4 separate regions of the Homo sapiens genome follow, and all the other regions are linked to region 1. Evidence: promoter capture Hi-C in 16 types of primary human blood cells and fetal thymus (Javierre and others, 2016). All regions are on one chromosome and are shown on one strand. Each heading gives the region's core, a stretch centred on a gene start or on the middle of the fragment in contact. The rest is flanking DNA. Distances are from core to core; before and after follow the strand shown. Region 1 holds the start of GNB5 (G protein subunit beta 5). Region 2 overlaps TMOD3 (tropomodulin 3). Region 3 overlaps TMOD3 (tropomodulin 3). Region 4 overlaps MYO5A (myosin VA).

The links. The method cuts DNA at HindIII sites, captures the fragments that hold promoters and counts their contacts. A CHiCAGO score of 5 or more calls a contact.
Region 2: a fragment that was not itself captured here is called in contact with the fragment with the promoter of GNB5 in region 1 in 9 of 17 cell types (M2 macrophages, total CD8 T cells, naive CD8 T cells and 6 more); the score reaches 7.6 in M2 macrophages.
Region 3: a fragment that was not itself captured here is called in contact with the fragment with the promoter of GNB5 in region 1 in 4 of 17 cell types (naive B cells, total B cells, activated CD4 T cells and 1 more); the score reaches 5.8 in naive B cells.
Region 4: a fragment that was not itself captured here is called in contact with the fragment with the promoter of GNB5 in region 1 in 1 of 17 cell types (total B cells); the score reaches 5.7 in total B cells.

What each region holds. Positions count from the first base shown.
Region 1 is chr15:52,190,098-52,192,797 of GRCh38, forward strand. It overlaps GNB5 (G protein subunit beta 5), which reads right to left and starts at 1,295. Exons shown (of 13, transcript NM_016194.4): 1 at 1,225-1,295. It overlaps MYO5C (myosin VC), which reads right to left. Exons shown (of 41, transcript NM_018728.4): 41 at 2,225-2,700. All of the region lies in intron 2 of CERNA1 (competing endogenous lncRNA 1 for miR-4707-5p and miR-4767), which reads left to right. RefSeq lists an enhancer at 1,393-1,892. The HindIII fragment of the contact is 7,593 bases long and covers 1-2,700 here.
Region 2 is chr15:51,909,838-51,912,537 of GRCh38, forward strand. It overlaps TMOD3 (tropomodulin 3), which reads left to right. Exons shown (of 10, transcript NM_014547.5): 10 at 1-2,700. Among named protein-coding and RNA genes, the nearest start is that of LEO1, 61 kb to the right of the region's middle. The HindIII fragment of the contact is 959 bases long and covers 874-1,832 here.
Region 3 is chr15:51,889,259-51,891,958 of GRCh38, forward strand. All of the region lies in intron 5 of TMOD3 (tropomodulin 3), which reads left to right. Among named protein-coding and RNA genes, the nearest start is that of TMOD3, 61 kb to the left of the region's middle. The HindIII fragment of the contact is 1,905 bases long and covers 308-2,212 here.
Region 4 is chr15:52,489,033-52,491,732 of GRCh38, forward strand. The region is part of intron 1 of MYO5A (myosin VA); the gene reads right to left. Among named protein-coding and RNA genes, the nearest start is that of MYO5A, 38 kb to the right of the region's middle. The HindIII fragment of the contact is 4,333 bases long and covers 1-2,700 here.

The DNA of each region.
Region 1 (2,700 bases), core at 45-2,544:
GGACATCATATCTCAATAAATTTTTTTTTTTTTTTTTTTAGACAGAGTCTTGCTCTGTCGCCCAGGTTGGAGTGCAGTGGCGCAATCTCGGCTCACTGTAAGCTCCGCCTCCCAGGTTCATGCCATTCTCCTGCCTCAGCCTCCCAAATATCTGGGAATACAGGCGCCCGCCACCTCACCCGGCTAATTTCTTGTATTTTTAGTAGAGATGGGGTTTCACCGTGTTAACCAGGATGCTCTCAATCTCCTGACCTCATGATCTGCCCGCCTCAGCCTCCCAAAGTGCTGGGATTACAGGCATGAGCCACCGCGCCCAGCCCAAAGATTATTTTTAAAATGGACAAAAGGCTTGTGTAGTCACTTCACAAATGAGGATACTTATATGGTCAATAAACATATAAAAAGGTGCTCATTATCATTAGTCATCATAGAAATACAAAGTAAAACTACGATGTGATACAACTACTTAGCCATCAGAAAACCTAAAAAGCCTGACAACACAAAGTGTGGGCAAGGATGCAGAGACTGGAACTGCCTTTCTCTGCTAGTGGGAGTATAAGTCGGTATAACCACTGTAGAAAACTGGTTGGTAGGAGCTACTAAAGTGAAACGGATATAGTCTATGACCAGGCAATTCTACTCGTGCATACATACACCACAGAAAATAATGCTTATTTCCTTAAAAAAAAAAAAAAAAAAAAAAAAAAAAAAAAAAAAAAAACATAAATGTCATAGCAGCTATTCATAGAAGGCCTAAACTTGAAAGACCCAAATGTTCACCAGTCACAGACGAAACTGTGAAATGAGCATAGAATAAAAAATAACTGATACACACAATGTGGATGTATCTCAGACTTACAACTAAAAACCTCTTTCTAACCCCATAAGCTGTACTCAGAGGCTTATGTTGCCATGTGTCACCTGGATCAAATTTTAAAACTGACTTAGTGATTTTAAGTATGCTTAATCTCTTTCCTGATGCCAATATTAATGTAAAAAATATTGAAATATTTCAATTTGAAATATTTGAAATTTACTATTTCAAAATAAATTCATGTGTATTGTAGAAAAATTAGATTCTACGGATTAACAACAACAAAACCCCTCACCCATGCTCCCACCGCACAGAAAGACCTGCTAACACTGTGCCCTGTACTCATCTGGATGCTTTTCTGAGCATTTCAAAAGCTGGAGTATTTTAACCGAATGTCAGCATGCACATACCTTCCAGAGTCAGCACTGGGAGCCACAGAGCAGATGGTGAGAGGTGAGGACCAGCGCGCAGCTTGAGGTGTGAAGCACGTCTCCCACTGGCTAATCTCCTTATCTTCTCTGGAGTGCTGCTCAGCTTGCTTCCTTCCTCCACAGCACTTCCATGCTCCCTGCTGGGCACGCACTGCCATCTGCATCCCTCACTCACCCCTGGAACCTGCCCAGCCCCTCTGTGGAGGGAGGCCTTGGCAGGTTTGACCTCTGTGTCTGCGCCCACTCACTGAGCAGCCCTCACATTCACCTGGGCCACATGTTCTTAACATTTCTCTATTTTGGTCTCCTTGCCACTGTCAGCTTTGTAGAACTGATCAAGACTGTGGGATGAGTGCCTCCCTTTCCCCATTTTTCCACACATAAACTCCTCAGCCTCCACAGGTCTCCCTGTCCCCAAACATGACCTACTTTTTCCCATGGTTGACTCCCCACCACACACACACAGTCCTCCAACGGGACTTTGCTCCTTCAGTTCTCTTCCCACCTCATCAGCAGTAGGATGAAGGCAGGGATGAGGAGGATGTGGCACCTGCCCTCTGGGGCTCACAGGCCTACAGAGGAAATGGGCAGCATTTCTGGCTTCCAGTCCAGGGTAAGTGCTATAAAACAGGCATAAATCCTGAGTTATGGAAGCCGAAAACCAACAGTGATGGCTCCTCATGGTGTGGGGAAGGTCTAGAAAGGGCATGGAGGCCGCAGCTCAGGATCAGAAACCCTGCCAATTCTCTGCCAAGTAGCCCCTCATTCTGACAGTGTGGAAGCGCCCTGGAGACACAGCCTAAGCCAGCACTTATGACATATTTACTTCTTCTCTAAACATTTTAATATACTTTAAATGAGATATTATGAATCTATAAAGATTCTAGCATCTTTCAGTATGACCGTAAAGAAAGGCATACAACTTGTACACTTAAGAGACATGTCATCTCCTCGCAATGAAAGAATCTGACCCAATTCATTTGGTAATTAATTTTATTGATTAAAGTATTACAAAGTTCTACTTTTCATTTTTTCATGTACAATGTATTGAAATGAACTAAACTCAATCACTTATAATATAAAAAGACATTATTATGTATTAGCAGGGTGATGCTTCATAATCATGTATTATTCCTACCTCTAAGACACCAGTCTGTATTATAGAATCACAGCTGTCACCTGTGACTGTCAGAAACAGAAGGTGCAATTGGGATTCTTAGGTTGGTGACAGAATAGCACTGGATCCACAGGCCAGAGACTAGGAGTGCTTATCAAATGAGGTTTTAGGCTCTGAAAGGAAGGAATGAGAAGGTGTGCCGGGACAAGGAATAGCCAGTTCCCATAAAACTTGGGAAACGTAGATTTCTCAAAAGTAGGGTCCGACACAATTTTTTAGTTACTTTTTGAGAAAATTTAAAAATAAATACATTGAAATGCTGATTAGAGAGCGAAAGT
Region 2 (2,700 bases), core at 103-2,602, 280 kb before region 1:
CAGTATTTAATCACTGCTACAAATCTTCCAACCAAGAAGGAAAACTGCTATTCTTCATAAATCTAATTTTTAGTATATGCTTCCTTTCATCTTATACTTTTATCAATATTTATAAAAGTCATTTCTATAATAAAAGCAGTCTTTCTTGCTCAAAGTATTAAGGTGAACAATTGAATAGAGTACTGTGGTCGGGAGACTGATTTGAGACTGCAGAGCTGATGCTGGGTAGAGGGTCTGGACTTGTATTCATGTTCTGTCTCAGGGCAGCCCCTGGAGCAGGAGATGGCAGAGGCATTTACAGCTGCAGAAAACAGGGAGGAATGGAATCTGAGGTAGCCCTGGCCTCAAAATTCAGGCCTGGCTGTATCATTTACAGAGATTTTTCTGGAGGGAAAAGTCTCATTTCTGAGGAAGGCAAGGTGGCTAATCATTATTAATTTTTTTTAAACTTTTTGGGCCGGGCGCAGTGGCTCACGCCTGTAATCCCAGCACTTTTGGGAAGCCAAAGTGGGTGGATCACTTAAGGTCAGGAGTTCAAGACCAGCCTGGCCAACATGGTGAAACCCTGTCTCTACTAAAAATCAAAAAAGTAGCCGGGTGTGGTGGTGCACACCTGTAATCCCAGCTACTCAGGAGGCTGAGGCAGGAGAATTGCTTGAACCTGGGAGATGGAGATTGCAGTGAGCTGAGATCGTACCACTGCACTGCAGTCTGGGTGACAAAGCAAGACTCTGTCTCAAAAAACAAACAAACAAACAAACTTTTTGAAATTGAATTGCAATATGTCTGCTACTTTGGCTTGGGCTGGACAGTTTATCTAATAAGCAAGGCAGCTTCTTGTGTGCTATGGTAATAAGCCTTCTTAACAGGCTAAGCTTCCCTCATAAGAACTGTGGTGTTTCTCTTTTTTTTTTTTTGTTTTGGTTTGTTTTGGTTTTTTGGTTTTGTTTTGTTTTGTTTTTTAAATCAGTATCCAATGTTTTATAGGGGCCAAAGGTTAACTTTGCACTATTCCCTGTCAGTTAAAGGCCACTGATATTTTTCTAAGTTAGCAAGGCTCACTTGCTTGCTTTCTTGCCTCCCTTGCCTCCATCCCTCTCCCTTCCTACCTTCTCTATTTACCTATTTCTCTCCCTCCCTCTCTTCTCCTCTCTTTTTTTTTCCCCGCATATGCAGCTTTTTGATTGTACTTGATTTTATAGAGACTGCACAGTTCCAGCAAGATTGGGAGTCAGGCATGGAGCAGGCATCTCAGGCTACCAGAAAGAATTGGTCACCTAGACTTTCAGTCAGGCATCCTCGTTTGCATTGTCCTGTAAGTCAATTAGTTGATAAATAGTTCCCCCTTCATCCCTTAAGTTTTGTTTTTGTTTTTGTTTTTAATATAGGTAAGTGGGACTCTACCTAAAATTTTGCATCATACTTATGGGTAATATCTTTTTCATATATTATTTATCAAAGTATGAAGTTGAGTATTTTGCTTGTACCATTTCAATTCTGCATTATAGTAGTTCATTGTATAACTGAAAGAAATGATTTCTTCATAAGTGACATTAAATATGAACATTCATCCAATTGAATTTACAAAATCTTTCCAAAATTATAAGGGAGAAAAATCGGGTTTACTTCAATCTTTAAAAATCTGGCACCTCTTAGTAACTTTCAGTATTTCTAAATTGCTCTAAAATTTTATAATAAATAGATTAGGGTTTTGCAATAGTCTTAATTTTTAAGCCAAAGGTTTTCTGAGACCTTAGGTTTTGTAGTCTAACCAGCTTATGTGGTTATTTAAAAGAATATTCTTTGTGTTTTTAAATTGCTATTTTTAAAAAAGCTTTTTATTACCCATTTTATAAAATGTTATACTCATATTTGTCTGAATTTTTCCAGTATTCCTACATGAAATTGTATGTATTAAAAACTCAATATTAGTGGCAAATATTAATACTATTAAAATGGATTTTGGTGCTATATTCTTGTAGCTAAAGCCTAGTAGAATTCTCAAGAATAGGTGAAATACACTTTCAAAGTTGCCTGTCATTTAAAAGACCAAATAAGCATTTTGTATTAAATAAATTAGCAGATGGTTAGAGACTTCAAGGAGAGTTAGCTTGGTCATTTAATTGCGACTTCATGTTATTTGATTGAAATAACCCACATCCTTGCTTTGTATAAGATATTCGCTCTGGAGAAGTTACATGTAAATAGAATTCTATAAATTGTTTTCCAGTTGACCGAGTATCTGTTGTGTTTTTGTTTAAAAAGAGGATTCCATGACATAATAAAAATTATTTTAAAAAATGTTTTGGGCCGGGTGCGGTGGCTCACGCCTGTAATCCTAGCACTTTGGGAGGCCGAGGTGGGCGGATCACCTGAGGTCAGGAGTTCGAGACCAGCCTGACCAACATGGAGAAACCCTGTCTCTACTAAAAATACAAAATTAGCCAGGCGTGGTGGCACACACCTGTGATCTCAGCTACTCGGGAGGCTGAGGCAGGAGAATCACTAGAACTCGGGAGGCGGAGGTTGCAGTTAGCTGAGGTCGCGCCATTGCACTCCAGCATGGGCAACAAGAGTGAAACTCCGTCTCAAAAAAAAAAAAATTTTTTTTTTTTTATAAAATGTTACTCATATCATATTGTACGTTATATTTAACTCTTGCTGTCATTAAAATAAGATGACAACATTTATGAAGTTTTA
Region 3 (2,700 bases), core at 10-2,509, 300 kb before region 1:
CTGACATTTCAGTTTGGTGGTATTAACCAAGAAAGCCATTGAAAATAGAGTATTAAATATTTTGTGTTTAATGGGTCAGCAAATGTAATAAGAACCACTCTACCTCACTAAATAATGCTAAACAGTATAAAAGCTAGTCCAACTTGGTTTTGTTGACATTTTATTATCACTACTACTAATTTTCAAGAAATACATAACAGTACTTACAAAGAAATTACATTATAAAATCAGATTCAGGAGATACCACAAAACTATTCAGCCCCTAAACCTTTCAGTCTGATGTGAAGTATTATATAGCCTAAAGCAAAGCTTTTCAGAAACTCATTTATAGGGGCCAGGTGTGGTGGATCATGACTGTAATTTCATTTTCTGAGGCTGAGGCAGGAGGATTGCTTGAGTCCAGGAGTTCAGGACCAGCATTGGAAACGTAGACCCCCATCTCTAAAAAATTTTAAAAATTAGCTGGGCATGGTGGCACATGTCTCTAGTCTCAGCTACTTGGGAGGCTGAGGGGAGGATGGCTTGAGCCCAGGAGCTTGAGGCTGCAGTGAGCTGTGATCACACTACTGCACTCGAGCCTGGGCAACAGTGCAAGACCCTATCTCAAAAAATAAATTCATGTATAGGGTGTTCTTAAATTAGCAAGGTGATACATGCCTTTGTAGCACATTTAAACAGTACATAAGTATTTATGGGAAGAGGTAAAAGTGTCTCTGTCTCCAGCCATCATGCCCTCTACTTCCCCAAACACCACCTACCCTGTTAACAATTTTGTATATACCCTTCCAGGCTTTGCACTGTTTATACTAATGTATACATATTATACATAGTCTCTTATTTTTTACAAAAAATCGATTATACTGTAAATATTTATTGCAACTTAATTTTTCAATAATAATTCTATTAGCTAATTTTTTTTTTTTTTTTGGAAACGGAGTCTTGCTCTGTCACCCAGGCTGGAGTGCAGTGGTACCATCTTGGCTTACTGCAACCTCCGCCTCTCAGGTTCAAGCGCTTCTCTTGCCTTAGCCACCTGAGTATCTAGGATTTGACAGGTGCACGCCACCTTGTCCAGCTAATTTTTTTTTTTTTTTTTTTAGTAGAGATGGGGTTTTGCGATGTTGGCCAGGCTGGTCTCGAACTCCTGACCTCAGGTGATCTGCCCACCTCAGCCTCCCAAAGTGCTGGGATTACAGGCATGAGCCACTGTGCCTGGCCAACTGTTTTTGAATGCTTACTGTGGGCCATGTTGTGTGCACAGCTCTTGGACGTGAAGTACTCTTATTAGCCCTGACAACAGTTCTATGAAATAGATATTATTATTTTTAATTTGCATGTGAGAAAGCTGACATTTTAAAATAATTGGGTAACCTCAATATTTTACACAAAGTCAGTGGTAAGGATTTTAACCCGTGTTATATAGTGTATCACTTAGCAGTCGACCGTGTTTTCTAGTTAATATGTATACATCTACATCATTCAGACATGTGTATAACATTCCTTTCTACGATGTTTTGTAATTTGACCATCCCCCTTCTCATTTTTAAGTTTTTATTGTAGAAATGTTCAAACACACATAGAAGAAGAGAGAATAATATATTCATTACCCAGTTTCCGCTGTTTTTAACATTTGCCAGCCTTGTTTTATTCATCTTCTGTCTCCCTTCCTAACCCTTCTACTTTTTTTTCTTGACGTATTTTAAAGCAAACCCTGTTCATTTGTATTACATACCTATAAATATTTCCATATGTGTGTCTCACAAATAAAGGCTTTTCTTTTAATGTAATCATGATGCCATCATCAAACTTAAAAATTAACGGTATTTTCTTCATATCATGTAATACCCAGTCTGTGTCCAGATTTCCTCTGTTCTCTCCAAAATGTCGTTTCATGATTGGCTCAAAAAAGGTTACACACTGCATTTGGTTGTTTGTCTTTTTAGTCTCCCTTAATTTCTTAACAGTTCTCCTCCCCAACCTCTTTCCTTTTTTTTTTTTTTTTCTGTGCCATTTATTTTTTAAGAAACTGGGTTTATTTTTCGTAGAATTTTCCACATTCTGGATTTGGCTGATTTCAACCTTATGGTATCATTTTATGTTTTTCTATCACCTATGTTTCTGTAAACTGTTAGTTCTAGTGGCTTGATGAGATGCAGGTGCAGGTCCCTTTTGGCAAGAATGCTTCATGGGTGGTGACTGAATCATATTAAGAAGCTTATGAAGTCTAATCCTTCCTCTTTGGGGGAATGAGATTGATCACAGGGTTCAAATGTAGGCAGCCTGACCCATCCTTTTTAAGTTTCCCATGAACCTTTTGCTTAATAATTCCTGCATCCCATTGACTGGATTCATTATTTCATTAAGGGGCAAGGCTCTTAAGATTTCTCTCCCCATTCCATCTTTCCCCACTCCACAGGATGTGTGGAATGGGGAAAGAAATCTTTTGGTTTTATAAAATTAGAACTATTCAATTTTCCATTCAATGAGGAAGTTCTTCCCTAGCTATCTTGAAGACTACCTTGCTGAACTTAAGTGAGAGGGATCCCACTCTCTGTTGTTTAGCAGAGCTCCATTAGGAAGCTTTTCCTTGTCTTGAACCAAGTTCTGCTTCTTGGCAATCTATACTTGTTCTAACGCAGCCTCTCAGAACAGCACTAAATTTGTCTCTTCTCAACTTCTACAGGATAAATCTGAAAACAG
Region 4 (2,700 bases), core at 112-2,611, 300 kb after region 1:
GCACCATTAGACCAAAGTGTAAAAGTAAAACTGCAGAGAATGAAGATAAACCTTCCTTATACCACATAGAAAAATTAACTCAAAATGGACCAAAGACCTAAATGTTAAGAGCTAAAACTGTAAGACTCTTAGAAGAAAATACAGGAGGAAAACTTCATGATACTGAATTTGGCACTGATTTCTTGGAGCTGACACCAGGAGCACAGGCAATAAAAGAAAAAGGTAAATAAATTTAAAACCTCTCTGCATCGGCTGGGCGCGGTGGCTCATGCCTGTAATCCCAGCACTTTGGGAGGCCGGGGCGGGCGGATCACGAGGTCAGGAGATCAAGACCATCCTGATTAACACAGTGAAACCCCGTCTCTACTAAAAATACAAAAAATTAGCCGGGCGTGGTGGCACGCACCTGTAGTCCCAGCTACTCGGGAGGCGGAGGCAGGAGAACTGCTTGAACCCAGGAGGCAGAGGTTGCAGTGAGCCAAGATCGTGCCAGGGCACTCCAGCCTGGTGACAGAGCAAGACTTTGTCTAAAAAAAAAAAAAAAAACCAACCTCTGTGCATCAAAGGGCACAATCAACAGAGTGAAAAGGAAACCCACATAATGAAAGGAAATATTTGCAAATCATATATCTGATAAAAGATTCATACCCAGAATATATAAAGAATTCTACAACTCAGCTGTGCATGGTGGCTCACACCTGTAACCTCAGCACTTTGGGAGGCCAAGGCAGGAGGACTGCTTGAGCCCAGGAGTTCAAGACTAGCCTAGGCAACATAGTGAGACCTGTCTCTAAGTAAATTTAAAACAAAAATAAAAGAATTCTACAGCTGAACAGCAACAATGATGAACAACCTGATTTTAAAATGAGCAAAGACTTTGAATAGACGTTTCTCCAAACAAGATACACAAATGGCCAATAGGCACATGAAAAGATGCTGAACATCATTAATCATTAGGGAAATGCAAATCAAGCCTACAATGAGATACCATTTCACTCCTATTAGAATACCTACTATCAAAAAACTAGAAAATAACAAGAGTTGGACAGGATGTGGAGAAATTAGAACGATTGTGCCCTGGAGAAATTAGAACCTCTGCACCCTGGTAATGTAAAATGGTGCAGCCAGTACGGAAAACAGTATGGTGGTTCCTCAAAAAATTAAATATATAATTCCTATATAACCGAGGAATCCCACTTCTGGTTATATATCCAAAAGATTTGAAAGCAAGGTCTCAAAGAGATGCTTGTACACCCATGTTCACAGCAGCATTCTTCACAATAGCCAAAGGATGGAAGCAACCCATGTCCATCAATGGATGAATAGATTAAACAAAAATGTGGTGTATTTACTCAAAAGAATATTATTTGGCCTCAAAAGAGAAGGAAATTCTGAAAGATGTCACGACATGGATGAACCTTGAGGAAATTCTGAAAGATGTCACGACATGGATGAACCTTGAGGACATTACGCCATATGAAATAAGCCAGTCATGAAAAGACAAATACTATATGATTCCACTTATATAGGGTACCTAGAGTAGTCAGATTCATAGGGAGAGAAAGTAGAATAATGGTTGCCAGGGACTAGAGGGAGTGGGGAATAGGGAGTTATTGTTTAATGGGTACAGGGATATAGTTTTGCAAGATGAAGAGTTTTAGAGATTGGTTGTACAACAATATGTTGTTGTTGTTGTTGTTGTTTGAGACAGGGTCTCATTCTGTTGCCGAGGCTGGAGTGCAGTGGTGTGATGATCACAGCTCACTGCAACCTCAAACTCCTGGGCTCAAGCAATCCTCCCACCTCAGCCTCCCAAGTAGCTATAACTAGAGGTGCAGCCACCACATCCAGCTAATTTTTTTATTTTTTGTATAGACGGGGTCTCACTATGTTACCTAAGCTGGTCTTGAACTCCTGCGCTCAAGGGATCCTCCTGCCCCAGCCTCTCAAAGTGCTGGGATTATAGGTGTGAGCACCATGCCTGGCCTGGTTGTACAACAATATGAATGTACTTAACATTACTGACCTGTACACTTACACATGGTTAAGATGGTTAACTTACGTTATGTGTATTTTACAATTTAATTTTTTTAAATTTAAGTATACATTTACATTCTAAATATTTATTAAACGCCCAACCATCCAGCTGTTTCAAAAAAGGCACATCTCCAAAGATGACCTACGATGATAACTACATTGGGCCTTGGCTGTTGGATTATTCCTACCAAGTTGAATTAAGAGGGACTTAAGTAACTCATTAATTAGAACTTCATTACTAAGGTACTGAAGGATTTCATTGCATAGAAAATTAATGCATGTGGGGGTCTACAATTTTTAGTAGGGTTCTGATGTTTTCTATTAATATTTTGTTTTTATAGAGTCTTTAAAAAATAAGAAAACCCCACATTTCCACCTACATCATAATATCTAGTCACAATGACACTGTACCAACTCTAGATAATTAAAGCCAGCTTTTGCTCAGAGATCCCCGCCAGGGTTACCTCCTGAAAAGCAAGTAATGAACACTAAGCCATGTATTTTTTATTGGATTCTCTAAAGTAACATGAGTCAGGCTCCAAGTGTCAGAAGATCTGTCTCATGCTAACAAAAACAAAGATATTTACTGTTTAATCCCCTTTTATCCAAGTACATCAATGTTCTTGGCAAACATTAATCAAACGGAAATTAAGGCATATCCTC